Linked DNA regions of Homo sapiens: regions 1 and 3 are each linked to region 2. The links are contacts of gene promoters, found by promoter capture Hi-C in blood cells and fetal thymus (Javierre and others, 2016). All regions are on one chromosome and are shown on one strand. Each heading gives the region's core, a stretch centred on a gene start or on the middle of the fragment in contact. The rest is flanking DNA. Distances are from core to core; before and after follow the strand shown.

Region 1 (2,700 bases), core at 189-2,688, 1.2 Mb before region 2:
AGTGATCCACCCATCTCCACCTCCCAAAGTGCTGAGATTACAGGCATAAGCGACGACATCTGGCCCAGATATTGTTTAAACATTTGATATGTATAAATTCATTAATACCCATAATATGGTACTTGAAACATCTACCACAGGGTCATTTCAGGTTCAACTAAACATTCGGGTTCACAGGACTGTCACTGGCCACACTTGGCATTAGCTTCACTTGAGATTATAGGACAAGAGCCAAAGCCTACCAGCAGAGAGGCCTCAGGTGTACCCCTTCTGTGGGAATAGTGCTTGCAGTCCACACAGCAGGTCACAGAGCTGCCTGGGAGCTGTTTGTTCTCCCAGAGGGTGGCTCAAATGCAAGGAGAATATATCCCATTAATAGGGTGTGGGGGAATCCTGAATTAGAAGCCTTGCCTCTCAGAAGCTATAGATTTTAAGGTAGCTGCCTAGTAAATATTTTATCAGATATAGTTGTGTACCTATCCTTCCTTAAAAGAAGAGATAGTCATGTATATGATACAATTAGCTGCTTATAGTATAATTAAGAAACATAAGAAGGTTTAGGTAAAGTGCTATGGATCTTTAGAACTGGTAAAGATTACTTTTAGCAGGGGAGATCATGAATGATGGATAGGATTTAGGCATTCCAGGTGGAAGGAACAGGAGAAGCAAAGTAATAAAAAGAAAGATGTGGATAGGAAAGAGTAATTTCAGATTGGCTGGAGATAAGGTTTGTTTCACCCTTCAGGAATTTTGAATAGTATGGGAATTTCTCAGATATTCAGAGAACATGCTGTTCATTCATTTTAAGAAAAGTTTGACCACTGATTACATGCATGGTCCAGTTTACCAATTAGGGGAATGTATACATGAAGAAGACATGGTACCCTAGAAAAGCTTGCAGTGTAACAGACAAATAACTATATACTTACAGAATGTGATAGAAATTGTAAGAATGTTGTGAGAAAAGAATTATAAGAGCCATGAGGAGAACCACACTCCTATATTTGCTGTTATGCCATTTTTAGTTTTTGACTCTTTCTTGGTAATACTGTCTGCTATTTGGAAAATTTTTTTGAAGGATCCACTTTATTTTATTTTTTCGGAAGCTGTCAGCAGTGGTGCTTCCAGAATAAGATATTTTGTGCATGCTGGCCCTTTGGTTTAATTTGTTTTTATCTTGCTGGCAGAGGATCCAAAAGTATTTTATAGAGTATGAGATTAAAATAATGAGAGGATGTTTGCAGGCTGATATAACCAATCTTCAGAATGCCAAGCTGTCAGTCTTTCATCTTTTCGGGGTCTAGAAACCTGTCTTATTTTCTCTAGACAACTGCTTTTCATTGACCAGGAACCTTGATCTTCAGAATTTGTTCTGCAAACCATTATAGCTAGATGGTGGGGAAAAATGTATTTCTGGACATTAATGAATTGCCCTAATAGATTTCCATAAACAGGTTTTGGAACTGAATATTGCATTGATTATTCAGATTTCTTTTGGATTTTTCACTGGCAGAAGAGAAACTAATCTGATCAGTAATAAAAAAATAAAAAGAAAACAATACAATATAATAAAACTCTGACATTTCATAGGTTCAGTTATCCTTGGCTAAATTATGAGGTATGACTATTTGAGCTTTACATTTATTAACAAAAGTGGTCTTTAATTGGGGTGTTTTTATGCTTTTTTGTTCAGGGTTTTTATGAAGTTCTGCATGGCTTTGTATTCAGAAGCCATTCTTTTATCAAAGTTTCACTAGCATTATCTGAGCTTAATATTCTGGGATGTACTTTGTAGCCAGTGATGAAAGGAGGAAAGTCAGCAGAAATTACTTACATATTTGTTAGCATTTGAAACATCTTAGCCTTCTAATAAGAACTATCACGGCCAGGCACAGTGGCTTATGTCTGTAATCCCAGTGCCTTGGGAAGCTGAGGTAGGAGGATGGAGGATGGCTCAAGGCCAGGAGTTCCAGGCAAGCTTGGGCAACGTAGCCAGACTCCATCTCAAAAAAAAAAAAAAAAAAAAATTCAGGTGTAGTGGCTTGTGGCTGTAATTCTAGGGAGGCTGAGGTGGGAGGATTGCTTGAGCCCAGCAATCCAAGGCTTCAGTTAGCTATGATTGTGCCACCGTACTGCAGCCTGGATTGGGCGACGGAGAGAGACCTTCTCTCTAAAACAAACCCAAAACACCTGACACCAGTAGATACCAAGTAGGCATAGTACAGGCACTGGATCCTCTCATGAAAAAAGATTGTTGCATGAAGTCATTTTAAAAAGAAGCATGGTAATTGATCCTTTTGGGGATTTCTGTCCAATTTGGTGACCATTTCCCTTGTGAGAACATGCCATCCCTCACCCAGCCCGTCTAACGGGGTGGGCTCACAGACAGTTATGTTTATATTACACAGTGATCTCCTAAAAAGCCTCGGCCCAAGTTTTTAGCTTACAGGTGCACACCTTTTTCAATCTAGGACAATTAGGTTCTCTTGGTCAGGAGCTGAGACCAAATCACAGCTAAAACTATTATTTATAATTCAGGAGCTGAGAGGTAGGTTTATTTGGTATATAGATGGAGAAGCAGGGGAAAGTCCGTCTTCCAAGAGAAAAATAAAGCAGATGAGTGATAAGGAGAGAGGACAGCTGTCTATTTCTGGTTTCAGTCTCTTTTTCGATTCACATTACATAACTATATTATTATAA
Region 2 (2,700 bases), core at 1-2,500:
TTTAGCAGGAGAGAATATAAGGGTAATCACCCCAGCACCTGGACCCATTTAGATTAAGTAAATTTACTCAGGCTCCAGAGGAAGGTCTTCAGGACTCAGATCTTATGGGTAAGAAGTTAATCACTTGTATCTTTAGATCAATGCACACTTACACATAAACATACAACTTACAAGGTATATAAGCTCTGGAAAGCTCTGTAATTCTGAGTCGGTCTGGGATATTTTCCACGCCTTCGCCCCGTACCTGGTTACAGAAATAAACTCCTTTCTTTCCTAGTTTATCTGCATCTCATTATTGGGCAGCGAGAATAAGCAGCCCAACCCTCGGTTTGGTGGTTTGGTCGGGGAGCATTACCACGACACTCGCATGCCACATGGTACTGTGATGACACTCTCCCCAGAGCAGGGCTTCAGGCAGTATGAGAGGGATGCGGGGTTCTAGAAACTCTAACCGAGTTTCTGGTCTCCAAAACTTGTCATGGTCACAGGTGGGTATCACCCTACTTCCCCACCTGCACTCGAGGATTCACGACCCTGGGATAGCTCCTAGACATTGTATTTTCCCATGAATTTAGTTTTGCTGCCCCCATTTTCCTGATTCTTTTCCTGCCATCTTGCAATCTCCTCTGATTTCTGGCACACCGCGGCCTTCCCTTCTACATATCACATCCTCGTTCTCCCCATACGGGGGTCCTGCCCATAAGGAGGCCGCAGCAGCTCTCGAGTGACCCCGGTGTAAACCTGCAGAGAAAAACCATTCCATTCCACGGAAGCGGGTGGAGGAGCCGCGCTTCCCGGCAGGCCACGTGGGGCGGAAAGACCCACTCAGTTTCCTCGCACCTCCGCCTCGACTTAGGAAAACGCTCTGGGGAACCCCAGCCCTGAAAAGGCGCGTCTCACCCCCCACGCCGGGTGCTGGCGACAAGGCCCAGTGAAAAAGCGTCTCGGGGCCGTCCGCGCGGAGGGGAAAGTGCTGAGGGAAGCCAAGGAATCCGCGCCTGCGGTCGCCGGAAACGTGGCGGGGACACGACCTCCGCGTCGGGGCTATTTTGCCCACTGCTGAGGAGGCCTCTCGCCACGTCCCGCTCCCGTCTTCCTCGAGGACCGGGCGCGGTGGCGCCTCTGGCCCACAGCAGGAAGGAAGGGGCAGCAACTCACGCCACCAACTCTGCCCCTCTGAGCGGCGCGCGCCCGCTTACCGGCCCCGCTGTTGCCGCAGCCGCCACCGCCGCCACGCGCACTTCCGGGCTGGTGAACGCGGTGACGTCACCAACGCACATGGGTTGGCGGCGAATGGGAAGTCGCGGCGGGGCGAGGGCGAGTGCGGGGGCGGGGCCCGGACCGAAGGGCTTCCGCCTCCCGTCGCTCCTCCCCACCGTGAGGCGAACCTCAGCCGGTTTCCCAGCCCCGCCGAGGCCCGCTGGGGCGAAGCGGAGCCCCGGGGGGCCCTGAGGAAACCGGCGCGGGTTCGTTTAATTACGCCCTTCTCGCCAGACCTCTGGCTGGCCCTGAGCTGCTCAGAAGCCCATCTGCGCGGCATGCCCGTGCGATCTGAGACAACTGGCAGCTGTCTTCCTTTGCAAAACGAGACTGTTAATAAAACCTACCCCAGGGTAGGACGGACTGTTCGGTAAATGTTAACTTATCCGTGTTTGACTATTCTCTCCTCTAATCTCTGCATAGGGTTAAGTCCACAGTTGACAGAGTCACGCGCATTCGAAATCTAAGCCCGCCGGTCCTATGAACTTACTGGGCATATTTTATTTTCTTACCTGGTTTGTGTAACCATTGGCCTCCTTGGCCCGGAGGCTTCCCATCTGTAACGTGGAGAACTTAGATTTGATCCAGTTCATTAATTCTTTCTAGAGCGGAAAAGAGCAAAGAGAGTGGCAAAGGAGTGGGAATACAGCCGTTGAGCCCTTAAAGTGCGAAAATGTGTAGTTTTTGTTTTGTTTTGTTTTTGAGACGGAGTTTCGCTCTTGTCGCCCAGGCTGGAGTGCGGTGGCGCGATCTGGGCTCGCTGCAACCTCCGCCTTCCGGTTTCAAGCGATGCTCCTGCCTCGGCCTCCCGAGTAGCTGGGATTACAGGTGTCTGCCACCACGCCCGGCTAATTTTTAGTAGAGACGGGGTTTTGCCGTGTTGGCCAACTGGTCTCGAACTCCTGACCTCGTGTTCCCCAGGCCTCGGCCCCCAAAAGTGCCGGGATTACTTTTGCCGGGATTCGGCCACTGCGCCCGGCCGAAAATGTGTAGTCTTTTAAGTGTAACTTTACATCACTTAGCTTTCCCTAAAATTTTCCTAGAAAAATGCTTGTGCATGTTATTTCTGTTCTTTTGCCCTCCCCACATGCCTACCTGTTCTTCCCAAACTTTTCAGCCCCACTCTCTGTAGACTTCCTAAAACGTAAAAAGTAAGATGTGCAATTACCACACCTCTTCAAGGTGTTGAATATCCTGTTTTTGGAAGCACAGGACTGGCTTTCCAAATGGACATTCAGAGGCACAGCATTGATATCATCCGGTGCAAGGATTTTCTGTCTCTCTCTCTCTTTGGGGCAAGGAAAGCCCCAAATCATCCTTTCAGGCTTGTCTGCTATTTCTCACCACCATGACCCTAGACAAACTGGACCAAAGCCTCCATTGCTGTACCCACCTAGAATAGATTCTCCAAATCACCACCTATGAAGGCAACGCTAATAC
Region 3 (2,700 bases), core at 24-2,523, 1.2 Mb before region 2:
ATATAGTACATGCAGTTTTTTGGTGTGTATGCCATCTGGTACACTAATTTTTATGCATCCTAAAGTTGATAATTTTAGGAAATGGGTTCCCTAAATAAAGCCAGGAACTGGGAAAAAGTGGTTCCATTTAAAAAATTATCTTCCAGCCTGCTGAGGTGGCATATGTAACTTGGTTCGTATTATGAGTCTCTTGTCAGAGTATAAACACAACATGGCTTTATTTTTTTTTTGCATTTATTGCTTCCAGCTCTGCTGTGATGAACCTTCACCTCCCACAGAGAATGCATTCCCAGCTCAATGGCATCTCCTCAGATTGGTTCTCATATAAGTTGGATCATAGCGCCTACTATTTGTAACTTGCTTCTCTACTTTCCAGTATATCTTGGAGAGAGTTGTGAATCAGCACACACTAAGCTACCTCATTCTTCATGGCTTTATACTATTTTGTTGTATGATTGTGTGTCATAATGTATTTAATTGTTGATGGGCATGCAGGCTGTTTTCATTCTTTTAGCTAGTAAAAACCCATATATGACTTCTTAGAGGCCCTTGATTGTTTTGTTTCTACATTGTGAGATTATAAATTGACAATAAAAGGTTAAAGGTATTTACATGATTTTCTTCACATATCTGACTTTTAATGAACTATTTTAGGTTACCATGACTTTCATATAGTACTTCAGTGTAATACTAATAATCTGTCAAATGAAGTGGCTGGTGTTAGACTAGAAATGTCTAACTTAGTCATGCAGGGTTGCATTAGAGCAATTCTTCTCAAACTACATGTGGCAAAAGTGTCAAGTTTTGTTTTGTTTAAAAAAAATTTTCCAATCCTTTGTAGACCAATACTTTTGTAAAATACAGTAAACACAAATTATCATAAAAATAAAATTAGAAATGCATACAAACTACAAAGCCTAGATGATAAACACAGAGCAGTGGTTCTTAAAGGGTACTCTGGTATCCTCAATCATTTGTCTGATGTAAAAGGCATGAAAAAATTTGAGAATAGCTACTATGGGGAATTTTTATTATTTTTAGAAGTTTTTATTGTTCCACCATTATAAATAAATACAATGTTAAAAGTGAACCCGGGGTTTCTTTTATTATATACCTATAACCCATTTTGAAAGAATACCATGTATATCAAGACTCACTGCCATCGATGTGACAAATAAGCTTGCTTTTTGCTTGTTAATTTATCTAATCTTGGTTCGACTGATGACAGTGCCACTTGAGGGAGATAACGTATGTCTAAACGGTTTCTGTTGTCTGTTTTAATAACACTCCTAGTAGAGAAACCAGTCTCATAGACGTATTTGATTGTTATATATGAAGAGATTTTTAGAAAAGTTTAGCAAGCTTAGGATGTTCTTTTTAAAATTTTGCTCAGAATTAAGCAAGTCATCCTGTATTTTCAAAATTCATCTTCAATTTTTTATCAGTAGTTAATTCTAACAATTTCTCCTTTAAAATTATAGCCAAATTTAAATGACCTTTCATTAAAGGTAATAGGTTTGAGATTAATGCATGTCCTATGATTTGATCTCCTTTAATGGAAAACAAAATTCAGAAGTTTCATCAAATTAATAAGGTAGTTGGTACAATATATCAAGATTATTACCTACTTCACTGATAATTATTGATAAATTATAGAACATGCCATAATATTTTTCCAAGGTTTTAAAATTTGCTTTTGTCCTTTGATCTCATATGCCATCCAAAAAGATGTTGCAGTCCTTTTGTTCTATTGAAATATTAAGAAAATAAACGTGCCAAAAATATCAGCCAAACAAATCTGGGTGTTCAATTAACATGTTAAAATACTTGGGACCAAACTCCTCTCTTGTGTTGTAGCGAAAAAAGAAATTCATTTTGTAGTTCAAACATTCTCTACATAATTTTTTCCTTTGATAACTGCTGTACTTTAACTGCATACATTTTTTTAATTGATGATGATAATTTGATGATAATGATAGTGATGATTAGATTACCACGTCAATACCTTAAAACTTTGGATGGGCCCTGTTTAAAGGTACTTGTGGAAATGGGAGACCCCAGAGGAAGCTCTTCCTAGGCTGTGGTGACCTCGTTATTGGCCTATTATTTAATGGAGGTACTCTAACACTGCTGATAGTGGTCTGTTGCAATCTGTCCATCCACAGATTATTATGCTGATTGAGAAAGTGTAATCCAGAAATGGAACATATAAAGTCATTCTCATTTATGCCAGTTCTTCTGAGCCTCCTAGATGTAAAGATTATAAACGTTTTTCATTTTGAGTTTAATTCAAGGTCCTACTGTGTCTATTTTCCCTCACTAATTTGCATAGCATCCCTGTCTTTCCTGTCTCCTGCTTCTTTTCCTCCAGTTCCCTCTGTTCTTCTTATTAGGTCTGGATCTCTCTATGTGATGTTAAGTTTTCCTCTAGTTGACCCTCATTTTCTTGTACTGTCCTGGGTAATCTTTCTCCTTTGATCCAAATAGTTGTAAGTGGTTTTTAATTTAATGTTAGACATATTATTTATATGTAATTATAATTTATGTTGATAAGGTAATGGAAAGAACACCAGGCTTTTGGGAAAGGAGACCTGGGTATTTTCATTTTGTCTTCATTCTTTATTTGAATTTTATTTTTCTCCTTTGTTAAATAATGTGATTAGACTATATCAATGGTTCCTAGACCTGCCTGTGCTTCAG

The links. Contacts are between HindIII fragments. The CHiCAGO score rates a contact against its expected background, and 5 or more counts as called.
Region 1: a fragment that was not itself captured here is called in contact with the fragment with the promoter of TRNT1 in region 2 in 1 of 17 cell types (naive B cells); the score reaches 8.9 in naive B cells.
Region 3: a fragment that was not itself captured here is called in contact with the fragment with the promoter of TRNT1 in region 2 in 1 of 17 cell types (fetal thymus); the score reaches 5.8 in fetal thymus.

What each region holds. Positions count from the first base shown.
Region 1 is chr3:4,296,892-4,299,591 of GRCh38, reverse strand. It overlaps a transcript of SUMF1 not described here. Among named protein-coding and RNA genes, the nearest start is that of SETMAR, 5.1 kb to the left of the region's middle. The HindIII fragment of the contact is 1,084 bases long and covers 897-1,980 here.
Region 2 is chr3:3,125,490-3,128,189 of GRCh38, reverse strand. It overlaps TRNT1 (tRNA nucleotidyl transferase 1), which reads right to left and starts at 1,250. Exons shown (of 8, transcript NM_182916.3): 1 at 1,200-1,250. It overlaps LOC124909339 (a long non-coding RNA gene), which reads left to right and starts at 1,359. Exons shown (of 2, transcript XR_007095786.1): 1 at 1,359-1,630. RefSeq lists enhancers at 687-766, 189-919 and a silencer at 1,127-1,546. The HindIII fragment of the contact is 15,170 bases long and covers 1-2,700 here.
Region 3 is chr3:4,277,186-4,279,885 of GRCh38, reverse strand. It overlaps a transcript of SUMF1 not described here. Among named protein-coding and RNA genes, the nearest start is that of SETMAR, 25 kb to the left of the region's middle. The HindIII fragment of the contact is 183 bases long and covers 1,182-1,364 here.